Regions from separate parts of the Homo sapiens genome. Here regions 2 and 3 are each linked to region 1. The links are contacts of gene promoters, found by promoter capture Hi-C in blood cells and fetal thymus (Javierre and others, 2016). All regions are on one chromosome and are shown on one strand. Each heading gives the region's core, a stretch centred on a gene start or on the middle of the fragment in contact. The rest is flanking DNA. Distances are from core to core; before and after follow the strand shown.

Region 1 (3,679 bases), core at 443-2,942:
ACCTTCAAGGCCCCAATATCACACTTAAGTTTCCCCTGATACCCTAGGCAGGCTCTATCACTTGCCAACAGAAACCCCAGATTGCAGTTTACAACAACTGAGGCAACATAACCCACATCCTAAATTTGTATGGTTTGCTTCAAATAATTTTTCTTGACCTATAAACTAACCTACAAGGATTTGACATGGGTCTCAGTAGTAAAAACGGGTGCACACCCATAGACCAGAATCTCTCACGAGCATCAAAGTCCAGCTCAGCTTACCGGTCTTTGTTAAGACGGTCATCTTTGATCACCATAGCCATAACTGCCATCCGGTACATGTGATCTGAAACGCTCTCCGGCCTCTGGACATTTCTGTATACCCAGCCAGTTCGTGGGACTCTCTGATAAATATGAAGAAGAAAAAGAAGTTTTAAAGAACAAATATTAACTATCTGCTATGCTCTTCAAGAGATGTCCAGGATATAACACACAGAAGCCGGGTCATAATTTCAGAACCTATTACAAAATGTTTTGCTAAACTAGCTAAAATGATAGACATCTGGAATCAAATGAACTAGAGAGCTCAGAGAATGAAAGGGGTAGAAGACAGAGAGAGATAAGTCACAAAGTCCATTCGTCAAATTATTCTGTTACTGATGTATAATTATGGAACATATGCAAGTCCTTTAAACAAAAACAAAACTGCATTTTTCCGAACAAGAGTTGCGGCTTTTTGCCTTCAAATAATCCTACACAAGCAGAAAACACTGTATTGAAGGGTCTGAACGTGAACGAGTGATAGGCTTCCAAATTCTGAGGCACAAGGGATAAGGGCACTTCTAATTGCTTGATGCTACCAGCCGTGACTCTTCCTTTTATTCACATCATAACTTCATCTTGTGAAACTGCATTTCTTCCTCAGAATTCTACATCTCTAAGGAATGTTATAAATAGTAGTCAGAGTGGCATGAAACGGATAATTTACTTTGAACTTGGGAGAGAGACGGGGAAGACGCACATGATGAAACTCGTGTGTATTACATTAAATCCCGTTTGGGGGGTGGCCGGGAGAAAAGTCTTGTTTCTGGAAGTAACTGTGAGACAGACATAAAAAGCTCCACTTAAAATCTGAGGAGCCGACAGATTCTGTTCTTCCCACCCGTGCTCAGAAGCAGCCGCGCTTTACACACACACACACACACACACGAGTTCTGGGGTCGTGAGCACACACACACACACACACACACACGAGTTCTGGGGTCGTGAGCCCCGGAAAAGCTCAGTGCAGGCAGGGCCAGGCCGGCTGCTCTCCGGGAACTGGCGCGGCTGCAGTGCGGACCTCGCGGCGCCAGGCTCTAGGCTCAGACTCCGGGCCGCCCCAGCTGGCCAGCCTGTCCCGCCGGCTGCTTCCTCCGTCCACCGTCGGCAACGCGCGGCCGCATCCGCAGGACTGGGGCCTTTCCGGAATTCGGCGTGGCGGACGCGGCGCAGGAAGGGCAAAGACCGCCGGCCGAGCGGGGAGGCCGGAAGCTCCGCCGCCCCACAGTCCCGCCCGCTCGGCCGCGGCCTCCCGGCCTGGTGCCCGCTCACCTTGAGCTGCCCTACCAGCCGCAGGAACTGCAGTAGGGACCGAGCCCCGTGGCCCGAGAAGGTCGCAGAGGAGACCGAAGCCATGCGGCCACCGACCCCGGCTGGGCGGAGCAGGCCGCGGCGAAGCTCCTCCCCGTCCTCCTCCTCCTCCCCTTCCCCTTGTCTTTCTTCCCCCTCCTCTTACTCTTCTATCTCTTTCTCCTCCCCCTCTTCTTCTTCCTTCTGCCCCTCTTCCTGCTCCCCCTCTTCCTCCTCCCCTTCCAACTCCTCCTCCTCCTCCCCCACTTCCGCTTTCTCCTCTTCCTCTTCCTCCTGCCCCTCTTCCTCTCTCCCCCTCCTCTTCCTCCTCCTCCTGTTCTTATTCCTCCTCCCCCTCCTCCTCCTGTTCTTATTCCTCCTCCCCCTCCTCCATATTCTCACGGTTTTCTCAGGACCTTCTGTCCAGCCTTCGCCTTCTTGGCCTTGGTGTCCGCTGCTTGGGCATTGCTCCGTCAGTGGCAGACACCTTGCTTGGCACATACTTGACACTCAGTACTCTTTATGAAAAATAAAGCTCTCCTTTCTAAATTTATGAACCTCGTTATTCTTCAGTTGACAGTGTAAAACCATGAAACTGGATGAGGTCACCTGGCAAGAGGGTGTGAATGAAGAAGAAAAGACACCCAAGACCTGAACCCCAACATTTAGGCTTTGTGAGATCAAGAGGGAACAGCCAGTGAGGTAGGAAGAGGATTAGTAGGTAGGATAGTTGTGTCCTGGAAGCCATGTACAAAAATATTTCAAGAAGGAAGGAATATGGTCAACCAAGTCAATGTGAGGACCAAGGTTTGACTTCCAGACTTAGTAAATTCAATATTATTGGTTACCCTGACAAAAGCAGTTTTCAGTGTAGTGGGCCAAGCAGAACCTAGTGAGATAATTCCGAAGAGAATAGGAGCAAGTATTACAGCACATTGGAGATGGGGTTGGGGTGCTGTTAACTAGTGGAGAGATTGTTTCAAAACAGGAGATATTATGTATGTTTACTGATGAAGGGGATCTAGTAGAAAGGGAAACATTGATTATGTAAGAGACAAAGAAGAGAAATATTTGAATGTCGGCCTTGAGTAAGGAAAAATATTCCCATCTGGTGTACAAGATAAAAGATGGGCTTTAGATAGGAATATGGAGAATTCATTCAAATATTGGAGGAGGACAGAGTATAGGGTGACTAATCAGTCGCACATGTGGTCATGGGAGGTTGTAGAAGTTCTCTTCTGATTGCTTCTATTTTCTCACCAAATTAGGAAGCAAAGTATAGGCTGGGATGTTATAATAACAAACAACCTCCTTATTTCCTGTATCTCAGCAGTTTAACACATCAAAGGTTTATTTCTCTCTCATGCTAAGTGTCTATTGTAGATCAGCTAGAGGATGCTGCTTGCTCTAACCTTACTCAGGGAGCTAGGAGGCTTTCTTTGCTCTCTTTTGCCAAAATTGGAAAAAAGAAAAGTGGCACTCTGGCTCTTAAAGCCTGTCTCTGGAAGTGATATATGACCTTTTGTCTACGTATCATTGGTGAAATAAGTAACACTGCCACGTCTAACTTCAAAGGGGGCCTGTGGAGTGCAATCTTGCTAGGCCTCTGGGAAGAAAGGAGGCTAGAATGTTTGTGAATAGAGGAGGAGGCATTTGAGGTTTAAGGAGTGATATAGTTTGGCTCTGTGACCCCACCCAAATATCATGTCAAACTGTAATCCTCAAAGTTGGAGGAGGGGCCTGGTGGGAGGTGATTGGATCATGGTGGCAGACTTCCCCCTTGCAGTTCTTGTGATAGTGAGTGAGTTCTCATGGGATCTGGTTAATGGTGTGTAGCACTTCCCCCCTTTGCTCTCTTTCTCTTCTGCTCTGCCAGGTGAAGACGATGCCTGCTTCCCCTTCACCTTCTACCATGATTGTGAGTTTCTGCAGCCATGCTTCCTGTACAGCCAATGAAATACCTTTTCTTTATAAATTACCTAGTCTTAAGTAGTTCTTTATAGCAATGCAAGAATGGACTAATACAAGGAGAAAGAAGGCATGAAATAATTTTTTTGAAGACTGGTTCAGCAACAAGATTAAATATG
Region 2 (3,940 bases), core at 303-2,802, 560 kb after region 1:
ACATGCATATAAAAAGAGGTATAGAGAATTTCTAGAAGTGTATTCACCAGAATGCAAACATCAGTCTCTCTGATTGGAGGGAAAATGGATGACCTTTATTTTTTTTTTAAATTTATTTGTGTTTTAAAATCACTACTATGATCTGAATATTTGTGTCCCCCCACCCACCCCCAAATTTACATGTTGAAATCCTACTTCCCAACGTGATAGTATCAGGAGGTGGGACCTTTAGGAAGTAATGAGGCCATATGGGTGGCGACCTCATGATTGGGATTAGTGTTCTTAGCAAAGAGACTTCAGAGAGCTGCCTGGTTGAGAATGCGCTATCTACGAGCCAGGATGAGGGAAAAATACGCCGAGTTTGCCAGTGTCTTGATCTCGGACTTCCTAGTGTCCAGAACTCTGGGAGATAAATTACTGTTGTTTCTAAGCCACCAGTTTATGGTATTTTGTTATAGCAGCCTGAATATACTAAGACAATGGCTGTATATAGTTTTGATTCACGTGAAATTGGCTTTCATATTTCTTCTGTTTTCTTCTGAAGTGTTCATATGCACAATTATTGTCCTTGATCCATTTATGAAAAGAAAAAGCTGTTTTCAATAAAGTATTTTGGAGGGTGGGAAAGAGGGTAAGAAGAGGAGGAGAAGCAACATCAGACACGAGGAAGAGCAGAAAGAACTATTTTCCATGAATGTCTCCTTTGTGTTAGATCCTTTATTTCACTATTTAATTTAGGACTTATGATCTGCTACAAAAAATGTAGCCTATTTTACAAACGTAAAAACTGAGAAGCTGAGTAACTGGCCAGGGATCCACTGTTGGCTAGCATGCAGCCAGGATTCATACCCTGCCCTCTTTGGCACCAAAGCCTGACTTATTTCCACAAACGAGGAGGACCTTCTCCATGCTGAGTGCAGTAGTAGATTCTAGAGCAAAACGTTTTATAAGATTGGTAACTTCCCTGTGCTTTAAGCCTTGCATTTTAGATTTTAGCACAGTATGACTCATTTTAGTCGAGAACTATGTTACCTGTGACTTGCTTGAAGGAAGGAAGGTAGGTAACATGTACTGCATGACATTTTCCTTTGTGCCACAGGTTAAAACAGAGTTCATATTGAGTATAGGGTTCATTCTTCCCTGACACATCTTTTTTTTTTTAATTTAATTATAACAGCTTATACTTTAGGTTTCTCTTAAAGTGCTACCTAACAATACTGAATGTTTTAATTGTGCTTTTTATAGAGTCAGGTCAATAATTTGAGATGTGTGCATCGCCAATAGAGAAGGTGTTATTTCTTTTTAAAGTTTATTTATTTTATGTTTTTTAAAGACAGGGTCTCTCTCTCTCTGTTGTCCAGGCTGGAGTGTAGTAGTGCAATCATAGCTCACTGTAGCCTTAAACTCCTGGGCTCAAGTGATGCTCCCACCTCAGCCTCCCAAGTAGCGGGGACTATAGGCATGTAGCACCACGCCTGGCTAATTTTTATATTTTCTTTCTTTCTTTCTTTCTTTTCTTTTGTAGACACAGGGTCTGCCCATCTTACTCAGGCATGTCTTGAACTCCTGTCCTCAAGCAGTCCTCCCACCTCAGCCTTCCAGTGTTCTGGGATTACAGGTGTGAGCCACTGCATCTGGCCAAGAAGACATTCTTTAGGCAGATATAAGTGCTATATTTTCTTCAAAGACATATAACTTTAGGCCGGGCACAGTGTCTCACACCTGTAATCCCAGCACTTTGGGAGGCTGAGGCGGGCGGATCACCTGAGGTCAGGAGTTTGAGACCAGCGTGACCAACATGGAGAAACCCCGTCTCTACTAAGAATACAAAATTAGCTGGGCATGGTGGCACATGCCTGTAATCCCAGCTGTTCAGGAGGCTGAGGCAGGAGAATCGCTTGAACCCGTGAGGTGGAGTTTTTGATGAGCCGAGATCACGCCATTGCACTCCAGCCTGGACAACAAGAGCGAAATTCCGTCTCAGAAAAAAGAAAAAAAAAAGATATATAACTTTATTTTTTGCTATTCAGTCTTGAATCTCTCTGCATTGATTTGAGAGTGGTCCAAATTTTTCTCCAAATCTTAGCCATTATTCACCTAGCTTCATTTAATTATAATCCTTAAAGTCCCTTGAACCCTTACTGTGCACATTGCAAAGTGCTTTTTCTGAATCACCTTATCAAATTCTTAGGGTAACTCTTTGGGAATCCAGCAGTATCTCCATTTTGTGCACTGGGAGACTGTCTTTAAGTTACTTCCCCAAGGTTACCTAGTGAGCAGATGGTAGACCAGGACTCTCATTCACAGTCCATCTGATGCCAAAACCTTCCCTCCAACATTAAGTTACATGATATTTATGGGGAAATCCAGCCTCCTCTCATTTATAATGGTGCTTTTATTTTCACCAAATTTCTGTTTTTTGGTGATGTCACTGCAATGTTTTAATTGCTGTGGCTTTATAATCATGTGTTTCAACATCATTAGAGTGTGCTTACCCTCACTTCTCTTTGAAAAATAATTTTGGATAGTCTTATGTATTTGTGCTTCTAGATAAGCATGGTTTTCAATTTGGAAACTGTTCCTTTGCCATAAAAAATTATTTTTTATTTAAATTGCATTTAAACATTAATTTGAAAAAAGTGAAATATTTATTTAAAGATGAGATTTCCTACTTAGGAGTATTATATCCATTTAGACACTTCAGTTAAGCATTTTAATTTTATTTATGTATATCTTGTCATTGTCTTGTTATATTTATTCCTAGATGTCATATAGTTTGATACCACTCTACCTGGGACTTTTCCAATTACGCTTCTGTTACAAAAATTAAAAATTATGATATCTGGCCACCTTAGTGAACAACTTTATGAATTTTTGACATTTTCATGATAATATTGGTTCTTTACACAGACAATTATGTTATCTGCTAATGACCACATTTTCATTTCTTCTCAGTATTTAAAACTTTTCATCTGTTGCTTTGACTAGATTTCAGAACCAAGTTGGGTATAAACCATAAATTGATATTGGTAATGTTTTACTTTAAAAAAAGTACTTCTTTTCCTTTTGGTTTCTGATATAAGAGCTCATCTCAGTTTATACAGGTGTACTTTAGGAGAGGTTAGAATAGTGCTTAATTTCTCAAGAGACGTTGAGCATGTGGGTACCTGTAGTGCATTCAAGCACAGAGATTGCCTTGTGGTGCTGTGCAAGGTAGCCTCTGATGAATGGCAGGGATTCCCTCTTTATCCTGGAGTTTCCATTATGTTTGTAGTGTTGCTGCTTTTATCTCCACTACAAGGCTTTTTTCTTTATGACCTGAAATACTTGTGGTTTAGCCTCACATTAGGTTCGCCTCTATGTTGTAATTTAGTGCATACCACTAAATTGGTGGATACCGTGCCCAGAAACCTTAAACACTGTGCTAGAATTGCTGTTAGGCAATTTAGGCCTTTCCTGGCACAACTGGAACCAAAGAAAGGGGGTGGAGCTCATGCAGTGCCTGGGGCTATTTTTCCCTCTGCTCACCTGGAATCTTCCTTCCAGAAAGCTGGGGGTGGGGCCTCACCAGTGCGGTGTTTCGGTAATAAGCCCGCTTCTATAGACCTGGAAGTGACATCGTGAAGTCATTCAGTTTTCATTCCTATGAAGAAATTCCTTTTCGTATATACTCTTTAGCGTTGCATTGCTTTTTCAGAAGCATATTTCTAGTGAATATCAAGAATAAATATTCATCATTAAAGAAGTTCACTCTATTCTTAGTTTTCTAACAGTTGGAATTTTTTTGTTCTTTTTAAAAATACAATAATGGCTGTTTAATTCGTCAAATGCTTTTTTAGCATGTATCAAAATGATCAGATTCTTTTTCTCTGTTAAACAATTTATAAAGCTTTATCATATTAATACTATATCACTGCTGTATTTCTGGATGAAACCTTTT
Region 3 (3,853 bases), core at 279-2,778, 580 kb after region 1:
TGTTGCAGCAGCTGTGATAGAACCAGGCTCAGCTGGTTGCCTCAGTGAGCCACATCTGTTTTCTCTGCCTCACCACCTAGCATTGCATTTCTTCAGCCTGTTTTTCTGGTCCTCACAAAGGGGATGTAATTGTCACATAGGATACTGTGGTTCACAAAGTCCATGGAGTGGCCATCTGAGTTAATTAAAGCTCTGTGGTAGTTGCTGAAAGCATTTCTGCCTGAAGTGATTCTGTCCTGTTGCTTTCTCCTGCAGGGTGTGGTTGGCGGTGTTATGATAGTGACTCCTAACAACATCATGTTTGACCCTCATAAATCTGATCCTCTGGTTATTGAAAATGGGTGTGAGGAGTATGGTCTCATCTGCCCCATGGAAGAGGTTGTTTCCATTGCGCTCTACAATGACATTTCTCACATGAAGATCAAAGATGCCTTGCCATCGTAAGACATTTATTTGTTTACCAGGAAAAAAGGGGTGTTGAGAGAGCTAAATGTAGCTTAAAAATGAGGGCATTTGCATGATTGAGGGATTGTGTAGAGGTGATTTTGAAGATGGAAGACTTGTGCACTGAAGAAAATGAGAAAAATGAGAAGAAATGAAAAGAATAAAATCAATGATGGGAAAAGTTGAACATATAAAGATTAAAGGAGAAAAACAAAGAAGCCGTCATGTAAAAATAGTATTTGTTGGGCTTATTTTTCTAAAAAGCAGTGCACGTTCTTAATGAAATTATGAAGGAAGAAAGGCAGTTCTCTGAAAGAAGTTTATCCAATTATCAATAAGAGAATAATGTTTTCTTCTGGGTTTAATTAAGGAGAGTTATGTTTGTCTTCATTTAACTTCTAGGAAAAGCAGTCTCCCTGATTCATGTCCTCCCTCAGTCCTGCATGGAGAGGGGTTTGGGTCTACAGTGTAGTGGTAGCCACCTTCTCATGCTGTGAAGAGGGAGTAATACCAGTTTGCTTTTTCCCTGAAATACAGATGAATATAACTTCAGTCCTGATTACTTTTGCCTTATAATGCTGGATTTATTGTAAAAAAGAGAGGGAAGCTCCCCAGGAAAAAAGAGAAAGCATTAAGAAAGCTCAGGAAATTGATTAACTGATACAGATAATCTGATTTTTACTGTCCTTTCGCTCTACTGTGTCTGTTTCTCTATAAAAGCCAGCAGTAAAAAACTTTAAAAACCTTCAGTGATGGGAAGAGGCAAAGCAGTAGGTCCTAACAGTAAAGAGGGAAACTAGCCCTTGGGGCTTATATGAAAAAAAAAAAAAAAAAAGGAAGTTACTAGGGAAATCCCTGGAGGTTTATGCAAGTAGATTCCCCTGGACTCCTACAGCCATTAGAATCTGGTCCACTCAGCCCTTCCCCAACCTCAAGCCACTAAGATATCACCAGAACATGGGCCCTGAAGTAGTTTCCAAATTTTGCTGCCAGAAGTGTCTAAATGGGTGGCCAAACAAATAGGGGCATTCCCTACTGAAATAGGGCTCCTAATGGAGTAATACCATTGCACATCTTCAGCCTAGGATATTAAGTATTCTATTTAATAATAGACAGTACATCTTTATATAAAAACTTCTCTCAATGTGAGATTATGTTTAATGATCTCGATTACAAGGGATAATGCCATGATTACAGGAAAAGAGCAGAGTTAAGAATCAGCTTCTAATTTGAAATTATTTCAGGGTTGAAATTATTTCAGGGTTGCACATTGATTCCTGCCTTGGATACAGGTATATAAAGGATTTTTAGTCTAATGAACAAGAATGTGTGAGAGTCAGTGTGAAATAAACTTTGTATTGTCTTCAGAACTTCATAAGTTGTTTAAAAGTTAAAAATTACTTAAAACATCATTATTACCAAAAGTTTAATGATAAAACAATAAGTACAAATTACCCAGTGGCAACGTGCAATAGTTTTTAAAAGTGGGTATGTGTAAAACTCCTCCATCCTCACCTTCAAGTTTGGTATTTGTGTGAGAGTGTGTGTATGTGCGCGTGCACACACGTGCAGGACGTTTTGTAGCTCCGGCTGCCACAGTGAGTAAGAAGGTAACAACTGAAAGGATTGTTGATCATCATTAGGTGCCAGGCTAAGTCTAGAAAACATTAATTAACAAACTAGCCAGTTGACAGCATTATGTATGCTTGGCAACTGCACTGCAGAAAAAGCAGATGGTGAAATTAATCTCAAGTGGGGAATGGACAGTTTGGATTAGGTAAAAGAAGAAAGGGGTAGACAAGGTAATCTAGAAAGCTAATTAGAGTGCAGTTGAAGGTATTTTTGTGGGGGTCAAGCTAGGTAGAGAAGGTGAAGAAAGTTTTGCTTATTAATCAAGTATGTGGAAAGTTGGGTTTCTTTGTTGCAGGACTTCTTACAGGCTTTAATATGCCAAATTCAGTTTTGAGTTCCAATAGGGAGATTATGCTACATTTCACTAACTTGTTTGACTCTAGGATGGAAGCATTTTTGACATCTCCTGGGATGCTGATGTTAGGCAGAACATTTTGTGTTTGCAAGTTCCTGCAGAACAGAGATTCTTTCACAGTTGTATTTCAGAATATAGCACTTAGGGGCTCAATGAATGCTTATTAAATTGAAATGAATTATAAATTATGAAGGCTTTTTAAAGCATTTGTTGGAGCCAACCAATTACATAGGCTTTTATTTTCTATTGGAAAAAGCATGAACCTTTCATGCAGATGATTTATAAAATCACTTTGGGAAGACAGTCTTTTGGAACTTCAGAACTTCCTGGTACTTTGTTGCTTTATTGTCATAACCATTTATGTCAAAGCCAAAATAGCAGATAAAGTTTTATCTGAAGATGATCTGACCTTTTTAGAAAATACAATTATTTCTGAAATTGAAATGTTATTCTTTAAAAGGTTTTTATATCTCTGCATTTCAACCCAGTAATAGTACTACTAGTAGTAGTGGTAAGTGGATGGGTTTACTCAAGATATTTCCAGTCATATTTTTTTCTTACACATATTTGAAAGTATTACTATTTTTATTTATTTTCAACTTTTATTTTAAGTTCAAGGGTACATGTGCAGGATGTGCAGGTTTGTTACATAGGTGCATGCCATGGTGGTTTGCTGCTCTCTAGTCATTTTTTTTAAATGTATTTCTTGATCATTTATTTTACACTTGGGAGAACATGTTTAATCAATATTTTCATGTAATTCCGATCTGGGAAGTAAAGCATCTGTTATTAAGGAAAAATAATTGACTGCATCCCAGGACAATATGTTTCAGCTGATAAACGAGCTGCACCATTGCTATAAAGTAAAGCGATATTGTTATGAAATATTTACTTAAGAAATGTAAGTACTATACATAAGAGCTTTTTAGATAAGATTTACTTTTCTATACATTTTTAAATTATAAGATGGAGCAACTGCCGTATACCCACAATAATAGTGGAAGCTTCCTCTTGCATCTCCTTTGGGAGTAGAGGGCTGTCTATGATTAGAAGCATCAGATCCTAAGCCATGAAACCCAGAATCAGGGTTCAAGGTCAGTGACTTTATATGGAGCAGTTAAGTGAGTAGCTACTAAGTCAACGAGCTTTTCAAAATTAATGTAGTTGTTTTCTACACTATTTGATAAAAAGGAAAATGTTTGCACATTTAAGGAATTTTAGACATTGGTACTAAAATATTTCCTCTCCTTTATCCTTTCCTTCATGAAAGTCAGAAACATTATTATTTCATATTTAGAAATCTTATGGGTAACATCTTCATGTTCATGTATAACTTCCAATTCCATCATGTGCTTCCAGTAGGATATGCAACTCTCATGGTTCATTCTTTCTCCATTTCCTTTAGTTGACCTATGTTTTATT

The links. Contacts are between HindIII fragments. The CHiCAGO score rates a contact against its expected background, and 5 or more counts as called.
Region 2: a contact is called between a fragment that was not itself captured here and the fragment with the promoter of HDDC2 in region 1, in 3 of 17 cell types (naive B cells, total B cells and naive CD8 T cells). The highest score is 7.8, in naive B cells.
Region 3: a fragment that was not itself captured here is called in contact with the fragment with the promoter of HDDC2 in region 1 in 5 of 17 cell types (naive CD8 T cells, total CD4 T cells, total B cells and 2 more); the score reaches 7.6 in naive CD8 T cells.

The regions. Positions count from the first base shown.
Region 1 is chr6:125,300,275-125,303,953 of GRCh38, forward strand. HDDC2 (HD domain containing 2) reads right to left here and starts at 1,693. Exons shown (of 6, transcript NM_016063.3): 1 at 1,575-1,693; 2 at 264-385. The coding sequence starts at 1,658. RefSeq lists a silencer at 1,383-1,722 and a cis regulatory region at 3,216-3,396. The HindIII fragment of the contact is 13,888 bases long and covers 1-3,679 here.
Region 2 is chr6:125,864,348-125,868,287 of GRCh38, forward strand. The region is part of intron 3 of NCOA7 (nuclear receptor coactivator 7); the gene reads left to right. Among named protein-coding and RNA genes, the nearest start is that of NCOA7-AS1, 47 kb to the left of the region's middle. The HindIII fragment of the contact is 4,670 bases long and covers 1-3,887 here.
Region 3 is chr6:125,884,904-125,888,756 of GRCh38, forward strand. It overlaps NCOA7 (nuclear receptor coactivator 7), which reads left to right. Exons shown (of 16, transcript NM_181782.5): 8 at 256-440. Among named protein-coding and RNA genes, the nearest start is that of NCOA7-AS1, 68 kb to the left of the region's middle. The HindIII fragment of the contact is 3,809 bases long and covers 1-3,433 here.